Regions from separate parts of the Homo sapiens genome. Here region 2 is linked to region 1. Evidence: promoter capture Hi-C in human tissues and cell types (Jung and others, 2019). All regions are on one chromosome and are shown on one strand. The core of a region is centred on a gene start or on the middle of the fragment in contact, and the rest is flanking DNA. Distances in the headings are between cores, read along the strand shown. Region 1 holds the start of ADNP (activity dependent neuroprotector homeobox). Region 2 has its middle 9.2 kb from the start of NFATC2.

Region 1 (4,173 bases), core at 1,416-3,915:
TGCGCATCATGGTGTAAAAGCTGGGGCCTAGGTTTCGCATTGTGCATCTCACACCTATGGAAATAACAAGAGGAGTAAAATCTATGGAAATCAACACACCCTAAGAAGGTGGGTGCTCACAGAAGACTGGTATCAACATTTTTGTAAAGGTGGTTGGCTGCTGAGATAATGAATGGCAATTACAAGTCCAAATTTGGAGGGAAACGAAATTTTTACAATCAACACTTGAGTTCGACAATGAAGAACCCAACATGGGCTTGATGTTTACCAACAAGGCTTTGCAAATCATGACACCCATCTACACACTTAATCCAACATCTCTCAAGAATGATTTTTAACTCTCAAAGAATTGGAAAGATTTGGCCTATGAAGAAGGGAGTTAACCAGCTATGCCCCCAAACCTGTTACTTTGTTTCAAACCTTCTCCTTTACCACCAGACTTAGGAAAGATATGGTGACACATTCAAAACTTGAGGTGGAAGAACTCCAGAGGAAGGGAATCCGAACCAAGGATGTGCCAAGGTGATTCGTCAAGAACAAATATGGACTGGGGGCCAACAGTTTTGAAAAAGTAAAAGGAGAAAACTTCTAAAATGCAGGGTGGGCTCTTTAAAAGAAGTAAAATCACTGCTCTTGACTCACTTAATCCTTCGCCATGTTGCTGTCAGCTCACCAACTAAGAGTGCGAGTGTGTCTTGCTGGGCCCATTTTCCCATGGTCTGTAGAAGGCGCTGTGAAGCACATCCTGTTCTAGCTCGGGGGCCCTTCCCCCCTCTGCAGCCTTACCCAGTGCAGAGAATGCGCCCCCTACTGACTCCAACACTCATCGCCTTTAGCCGACTTGGCTGCGGTGCATTTTGGGTGGGGGCTGGTATTTTCTCCATGGCCATAAACCAGAAGCAACAATGCAGATTTCTAAAGAAACTGTATCAAGCTATCCAAGAGATTTTTTTTTTTTTCATTCTGAAGGTTCAAGATACAGGCACAAGAAGCATCAGGGATGGGAACTGGGTGTGTGGGGATGGACATCATTAACATGACAAACACAGAAACAGTTTGGTTCTTTTTCCCTCCTAAGCCTTTGTCTGTGAAATGGGGTTATGGCAAGAAGTGTCCAGAGTAACTGGTAAATTCAAGAAGATTAAGAAGACTTCGTGTGTGGGGGGTGTGTGTGTGTGGCTAAAAAGGATATCAGACCTAGAGTCTTGGTCTTGGGCAGAAGAGGAAGAGAAGCAATCGCGCCTTTTCCAGCAGACAGGGATCAAGGTTGGGGGGGAGGGGAAGGCAGGCAGGCCTCCCAGAGGAAAGAAGAGGTGAATACGAGTGTGTTCACAAAACTACTCCCCATTCATTACATTAAAAAAAAATCTTTTTGCAGCTCTCTGGATTTCCATTTTCTACCACCTTACTGCAAAGTTGGGGCTCAGAATGTTCGAAAGAGGTGCTGACCAGGCAGCTGAGATTGGGGAAAAGGGATGGTGGTGAACTGTGGTCAGGATAAGAGGAAAGCTGGCAGGTTGGGGAAGAAGGATTGCACAGGGGAGGCAAAGACTCACTCCATGCCATGCATGCTCCCCGCCCCCCCCAACCCCGTCCCCCCTCCCCCAGGTAAGGGTGGGCAGACCTGGCAGAAGGCTGGTTCAAGGCATGGGGGTGTGCGTGGGGGGGCTCCTTTTGGGGGTGGGGGGCGGACGGGATTAGTTCCAGGATGGGAGAAGCTCGGTTCTGGCTGGGGGAGATGCCCTTAGCTGCAAAAGCTCCGGGCGGCCAGGCAGAGTGCTGGCCTCGGTGGGCTCACAGGGCGGAGAAGGGGGTCGGGCTGCAGGAGGAGGCGCCTGGACCTCCGGAGCAGAGTCGGGTAGCGGTCCGTGCCGGGACGGGGGACCCGTCGGCGCCGGGGTGTGCAAAGGAGCGTGTGTGCGGCTGGAGGGCGGCGATGCGAACAACAATGCGCCCGCGCCCGGGGCCAGGCTGCACTGGCGGCCGCGCGGGCCGGGGTCGGGAAGCCAGGCAGGGCAGGGCCGCGGGTCCGCGCGCGGCGGCGCCGGGCTTACCTTGACTCGGCCTCGAGGCGCGCGCGGGGCCGGCGTGCTCGGGGGCCGGACAGCGGCGGCGGCGGCGGGCGGATGGCGGCGGCACGGCGGTGGCGGCAGCGGGGAGGGCGCGCCCGGGGCCTCGTCGCGCTCCGGCTCGGCGGACTCCGGCTCGCGCCGCGGCCGCGGGTGCTGCCGGGGGGCGCGGCGGGCGCAGCAGAGCGGCGGGCGGCGGCGGCGTCGTCGAGCGGTGCAGACAAAGGAGGGGCGGAGGGAGGAGACGGAGGGTGTGGGAGAGGCGGCTTCACCGGCGCGGGCGGCGGCGGCCGCGCTCCTCTCGCTCCTCAGCAGCGGGGACCGAGAGAGGGAGCTGTGTCTGAGAAGACGCCAAAATCCCCCTTAGCGCTGCCTGCGGGAGGGGGAGGGGGCACAAGATGGCGGCGGCCGGGGGGGGGGGGGCGGGAGTTCAGCTCATGGATCCCGGCGGGCGGCGGAGGGGAGACCGGGCCGGCGGAGGCGGCGGCGGCAACGGGCGGGGGAGGGGGCTGATCCCGCGTCTCCCCTCAGCAGACAATACAAGCGCCTCGGACCGAGTCCCCGAACCTGCCCTAGCCAAAATGGCGGCCGAGAAAGAGCGGAAGTGACGTAAGTGCCTCATTAGCATAAGAGGACTCATTGTCCAGCTAAATAGGGGGGGGCAGTGGGGACAGCACCCCTAACCCCCTTTTCCCCAGGGGGGGTTCCTCTTACTCCCACCCCTGCTTGCACCTAACTTTTCCTGAGGGAGGGTGCTCTCAGCACCCCCACCCCCGCTTGAGGGAAATTATATAATCCCCACTGAGGGGGGAGCTCTCGCGAGAACCAGGCGGATTTGCCATTGACCCACTAGGAGGCGCCGCGGATAATGGCCGCAGTGCGCTCCCGGGGCCCGTGTGCTCGGCGGGCGCCTTCCTCTGGCCGCAGCGCCGGCGGCGGAGGCAGAAGCAGCGGGCCGCAGCACGCCCAGCACTCAGTCAGGTGGCCGTGCTGGGGATCCCTGCGCGGGCCCAGCTGGGCCTGGACTACATCTGGCGGGAGGGGTGTGCGGGGCGGCCTGGGGCGGCTCCACGTGCTCAGATGCCCGCGCTTCCACGGCTGAGAAGCGGCGGGAAGGCGCCGGGACACCTGGCCGGTCGCCCCTGACGCCTCCTGCCTTAAATGAGGTGTGAGGGCCTCGTGCTTCACACAGCGACTTGAGATGAGACACAACCCCATGGATGCCTTAGCCCTTCCTGGTGGGGTATTCGGTGCAGAGGGGCCGAGATTTTATTAAGGTCCGCCGTTACCCTGTGACTTGACATTCTTCCCAGTCACAGTGATGGACTCTTCTCTGACCTGAATAAAAAAAAAAATGGGAATCCTAGTGCCTTGAGGCCACCCAACTGGTGAAACTTAAGGATGAGAAGTGATGTTGCCAATAGGGGCATTGGCTCTCTGCAAGATCCTTAAACAACACACTTTGTAGTCCTAGGGACATAGCTTTTGGTGCTCCCACAATCTGGGTAGCATAAGACAGCACATGGTTGCTTTGTAAATTTAGGTCAATCCCAACCAATACATTATCTCCTCAACATTTTTGAACCAACCTTTTAAAGTAGGTTGTTCAAAGTAACATTATGATTTAAAGTATCATTGGTTGGTTAAATGTATTGACAAGTAATAGATGTCAATAGTGAGGAATTAACCAAGCCTGTTTCCTTAATATGTGATCTTTAGGTAAATACACCTGTCTTTTGCTGTTTCTTTACATTTCAAGTTAACATAGTTTCAAGCCATACTTAACATCCGAAAATAATCTGAGTTCGCTGCAAGTAGTATAAATTGTGGTTACACATAGCTGTTCAACATCTAAGACTTCAGTTAGCCCTGTTTAACAAACTTTTATACAACACATTTCTGCAATTGTGATAAAATGTATCTTTAAAAGCCAAGTCAGTATTTCAAGGGAAAACAGCTGAAAAAAGTCGTGGAAAAAGGGGTTGGGGCAAAGCATTTGATTCAGAAAACTAAAGAATCTAATTACACACTGCAGAAGACAGATAAAAACTAATATGAAATAAGCAAAGTAAGTTTAAGTTTAGTTTTTCTTAGATATACTTAG
Region 2 (4,228 bases), core at 588-3,087, 620 kb after region 1:
CGCACCTGGAATAACCTGTGCTTAGAAGGAGCCTGCACTTGGTTGAATGCTCTGCTGTTGACATTTTTTAAATTCTGAATACTTTTTGAACAAGAGGCGATGCATTTTCATTTCGCACAATGCCCTGAAAATTATGTAGCCGGCTCTGATAGTGTACAAGTGCTCCTCAACTTATGGTGGGTGATATCCCAATATACCCATGATACACTGAACATATTGTTGGGTTGAAAATGCATTTAGGCAGGGCATGGTGGCTCACGTCTATAATCCCAGCACTTTGGGAGGCTGAGGCAGGAGGATGGCCTGAGGCCAGGAGTTTGAGACCAGCCTAGGCAACATAGTAAGATCCTGTCTCTATGAAAAATAAAAATACATTAGCCGGGCTCCCATTTGAGCCCAGGAGCTTGAGGCTGCAGTGAGCCATGATCGCACCACTGCATTCCAAAAGAGTAAGACCCCATGTCTAAAAAATAATAATAATAGGCCAAGCACGGTGGCTCATGCAAGCCTGTAATCCCAGGACTTTGGGAAGCCAAGGTGGGTGGATCACCTAAGGTCAGGAGTTCGAGACCAGCCTGGCCAATGTGGTGAAACCCCGTCTCTACTAAAAATACAAAAAATAGCCAGGCATGGTGGTGGGCGCCTGTAATTCCAGCTACTCGGGAGGCTGAGGCAGGAGAATCGCTTGAACCTGGGAGGTGGAGGTTGCAGTGAGCCGAGATTGCGCCATTGTACTCCAGCCTGGGTGACAAGAGCGAAACTCCATCTCAAATAATAATAATAATAATAATAAATACAAAGAAAATGCATTTAATATGCTTAACCCACTGAACACCATAGCTTAGTCTAGCCTACCTTAAACATGCTCAGAACATTTACAGTCACCTACGCAATTGATTTTAGGCAAAATAACCCAACACAAAGACTACTTTATAATGAGGTGTTGAATATCTTCTGTAATTTATTGAATACTATACCAAAAGAGAAAAACAGAATGGTTTATGGGTACCCAAAGTACAGTTTCTACTGAACTCATATCGCTTTCACACCATCGTAAAGAAAGCCTAAGTCAAACATCATAAGTCAGAGACCATCTGTATAACACATAAGTCACACATTTTCATCATGAACTCCATGTCCTAACAACCTCCCATTATAATAAAACACTGCTTATAAAAGGCAGGCATTGAAACGTTTTAAGTTGGATTCAAAAAGTGGGAACATTCTTTACCAGACTCCAAAAACCATCTCCCTTCAACGGAAGCATTCCCTGGGACTCATGATCACTCTAGGTGTTAATATATAACTTATACACAGATGCATTTGACTCCAGCAAGGCTGGCACTAAGGTGAGGCAAGAGAGGTAAAATGAAAGAGGGCACCAAAAACTCAGTAATTAGATAAATTATATCTTCACACCATGTTTTAAAACATCAAAATGAATGCAAAAAAAAATCCTCGCTGAACAAGCTATTATAATTTTAATAAAGACAGGGTCAGTAACAGTCCATGTGAGCCACACTGCACCCTAAGGCCACAGGGAAAATGAGTAATGTTGATCTTGTCTTTATTTAACATTTTTATTTATTTATTTTTTTTGAGACAGGGTCCCACTCAGTCACCCAGGATGGAGTGCAGTGGCGAGAGCATGGCTCACTGCAGCTTCAACCTCCCCAGCTCAGATGATCCGCTCACCTCAGCCTCCTAGTAGCTGGGGCTACAGGCTCCTGCCACCATGCCCTGCTATTTTTTTTTTTTTTTTTTTTCTGGAGAGACAAGGTCTCACTATGTTGCCTAGGTTGGTCTCGAACTCCTGGGCTCAAGCTACCGCATCTGGCCTTTTTAAAAAAAGCTTATCATGGAGTTTTGGCATGATAAGCCAAAATTTTAAAACAAAAATTTTGTTTTAAAAATATTATATTAGGTCGCACACAGTGGCTCATGCCTGTAATCCCAGCACATTGGGAGGCCAAGGTGGGCGGATCATGAGGTCAGGAGATCAAGACCATCCTGGCTAACATGGTGAAACCCAATCTCTACTAAAAATACAAAAAGTTAGCCGGGTGTGGTGGCGGGTGCCTGTAGTCCCAGCTACTCGGGAGGCTGAGGGAGGAGAATGGCATGAACCTGGGAGGTGGAGCTTGCAGTGAGCTGAGATCACGCCACTGCACTCCAGCCTGGGCGACAGAGCGAGGCTCCATCTCAAAAAAAAAAAAATGTGTATTAAAATATGGTTCATCCTGGGCTTACGCCTGTAATCCCAACATTTTGGGAGGCCAAGGTGGGAGGATCGCTTGAGCCCAGGAGTTCAAGACCAGCCTGGGCAACATAGTGACACCCCATCTTTATGAAGCTGAAACAGGAGGATGGCTTGAGCCCAGGAGGCTGACGCTGCAGTGAGCCGTGTTCGTGCCACTGCACTCCAGCCCAGGTGACAGAGCAAGTACCTGTCTCAAATATATATACATTTCATATATGTATGTGTGTCTGTGTGTGTATATATATATACATATAGTTCATCCTGATTACTGAATTTCTTGCATTTTGCTCCCCCAAATGCCTCATTGGCTTCCTCATGCTCTTGCAAAGCCATTTTTAGGGATGAGCTCCTTATAGATTGAGAAAACAAGACAGTTTCAAACCTGACTTGCACTCCAATCTATCATCTCCTACAGAGTCTTTTAAAGCCCGAAGAGGACTTCTCTGTTGTGAGAAAACTATTTTCCAAGAGGGGATTGCAGCAAAAGGCCGTTAGTTGAATATGCCACCCTCCCACTGGGCAGGCACTGATGGCCATCAGTACCTCGTAAGACAGCAGGGTTCTACTAAAAGCCAACACCCAAATCAACGGGTGGACTGTAGGAAGATGCCCCATTTGACAGCAGTAGAAGTCACAGGTCTGCAGGAGCTCCACCAAGTCCATCCTGCAGGCATATTATGTTTGGCCTGCCCAGTAATTTATTTTTAATCTGAACTAATATTTTTATTTTTTTTAATTATATATTAAGTTCTGGGATACATGTGCAGGACGTGCAGGTTTGTTACATCAGTAAACATGTGTCATGGTGGTTTGCTGCACCCATCAACCCATCACCTAGGTACTAAGCCCCACATGCATTAGCTATTTATCCTGATGCTCTCCCTCCCGCACCTTCCTGGCAAGGCCCCAGTGCTTCTTGTTCTCCTCCCTGTGTCCATGTCGAACTAACATTTTTAAATTGGGAGATTTCACATAAAAGTCCAAAATTCCAACTTCTTAAAAAAAAAAGGCAGGCAGATCCCGCCACTCCAGGCCTACATTCCCGTATGGACCAATCGGCTGGAGGTGAGTAGAGGCTGTTCCCTGGGGATGCCCTCCTCCGTTTGCCCCAGCCCCCACCTGTCTTCCTCATTCATTTGTTCCACCTGCCGGGAGCCTGTGAGCTTGAGCGCCTGGGCTGCAGAGTCTTGATTCCTTCCACCTGGTCCCCGCACAACTACTTTGCCCTGGTTTTGTTTCTCCTCTTTGTTCCTTGCTTTCTAGCACGTTCCCCTCTGTCTTGGGTAAAAACGTTTAGAAGGAGGGCAGGCGTGCTGGGCGCGGTGGCTCACGCCTGTAATCCCAGCACTTTGGGAGGCCGAGGTGGGCGGATCACGAGGTCAGGAGATCGAGACCATCCTGGCTAACACGGTGAAACCCCGTCTCTACTAAAAATACAAAAAATTAGCCGGGCATGGTGGCAGGTGCCTGTAGTTCCAGCTACTCGGGAGGCTGAGGCAGGAGAATGGCATGAACCTGGAAGGCAGGAGCTTGCAGTGAGCCGAGATCATGCCACTGCACTCCAGCCTGGGCGACAGAGCAAGACTCCATCTCAAAAAAAAAAAAAAAAAAGAGGGAGGGCAGGCTCAGTAAACCTGCCTCCCCCTTAAACGACGGTCCTTGATCTTAACTGAACAGGAGATGCCGCCATCCCTCTGCCAGGGAGGCTCCATCTTCTACCAAGGTAGAACCTCAAGGGGCAGGGTGGGTAGGGCTGGTTCGTTAGGGGATAGAGTATTGGTTAATATCTGCCCATCCCCACAATCATTTCTCACTCAATGTACCTGTCACCGTCGGCCCACTGTCCCCCCTCAGTCACCCAAGCTGTCTTCCCCTGTATGCCCCAAGATCATTTCTCTCTCCATTCTCTTCCCTGCCATATTCTTTGCAGACTCAAACATCTGTACCGATTTCCTAATCTTTGAAGTC

Evidence for each region. The method cuts DNA at HindIII sites, captures the fragments that hold promoters and counts their contacts. A contact is called where the count stands out against the background at its distance.
Region 2: a fragment that was not itself captured here is called in contact with the fragment with the promoter of ADNP in region 1 in 1 of the 25 tissues and cell types used here (dorsolateral prefrontal cortex).

Annotation. Positions count from the first base shown.
Region 1 is chr20:50,928,772-50,932,944 of GRCh38, forward strand. It overlaps ADNP (activity dependent neuroprotector homeobox), which reads right to left and starts at 2,666. Exons shown (of 6, transcript NM_001282531.3): 1 at 2,055-2,666; 2 at 1-54. It overlaps ADNP-AS1 (ADNP antisense RNA 1), which reads left to right and starts at 2,213. Exons shown (of 3, transcript NR_110009.1): 1 at 2,213-2,283; 2 at 2,604-2,678. RefSeq lists silencers at 1,885-2,064, 2,205-2,254, 2,405-2,624, 2,924-3,111, 2,975-3,154 and 2 more and enhancers at 1,495-2,285, 2,705-2,824. The HindIII fragment of the contact is 17,322 bases long and covers 1-4,173 here.
Region 2 is chr20:51,549,823-51,554,050 of GRCh38, forward strand. It overlaps a transcript of NFATC2 not described here. Among named protein-coding and RNA genes, the nearest start is that of NFATC2, 9.2 kb to the left of the region's middle. The HindIII fragment of the contact is 5,436 bases long and covers 1-4,228 here.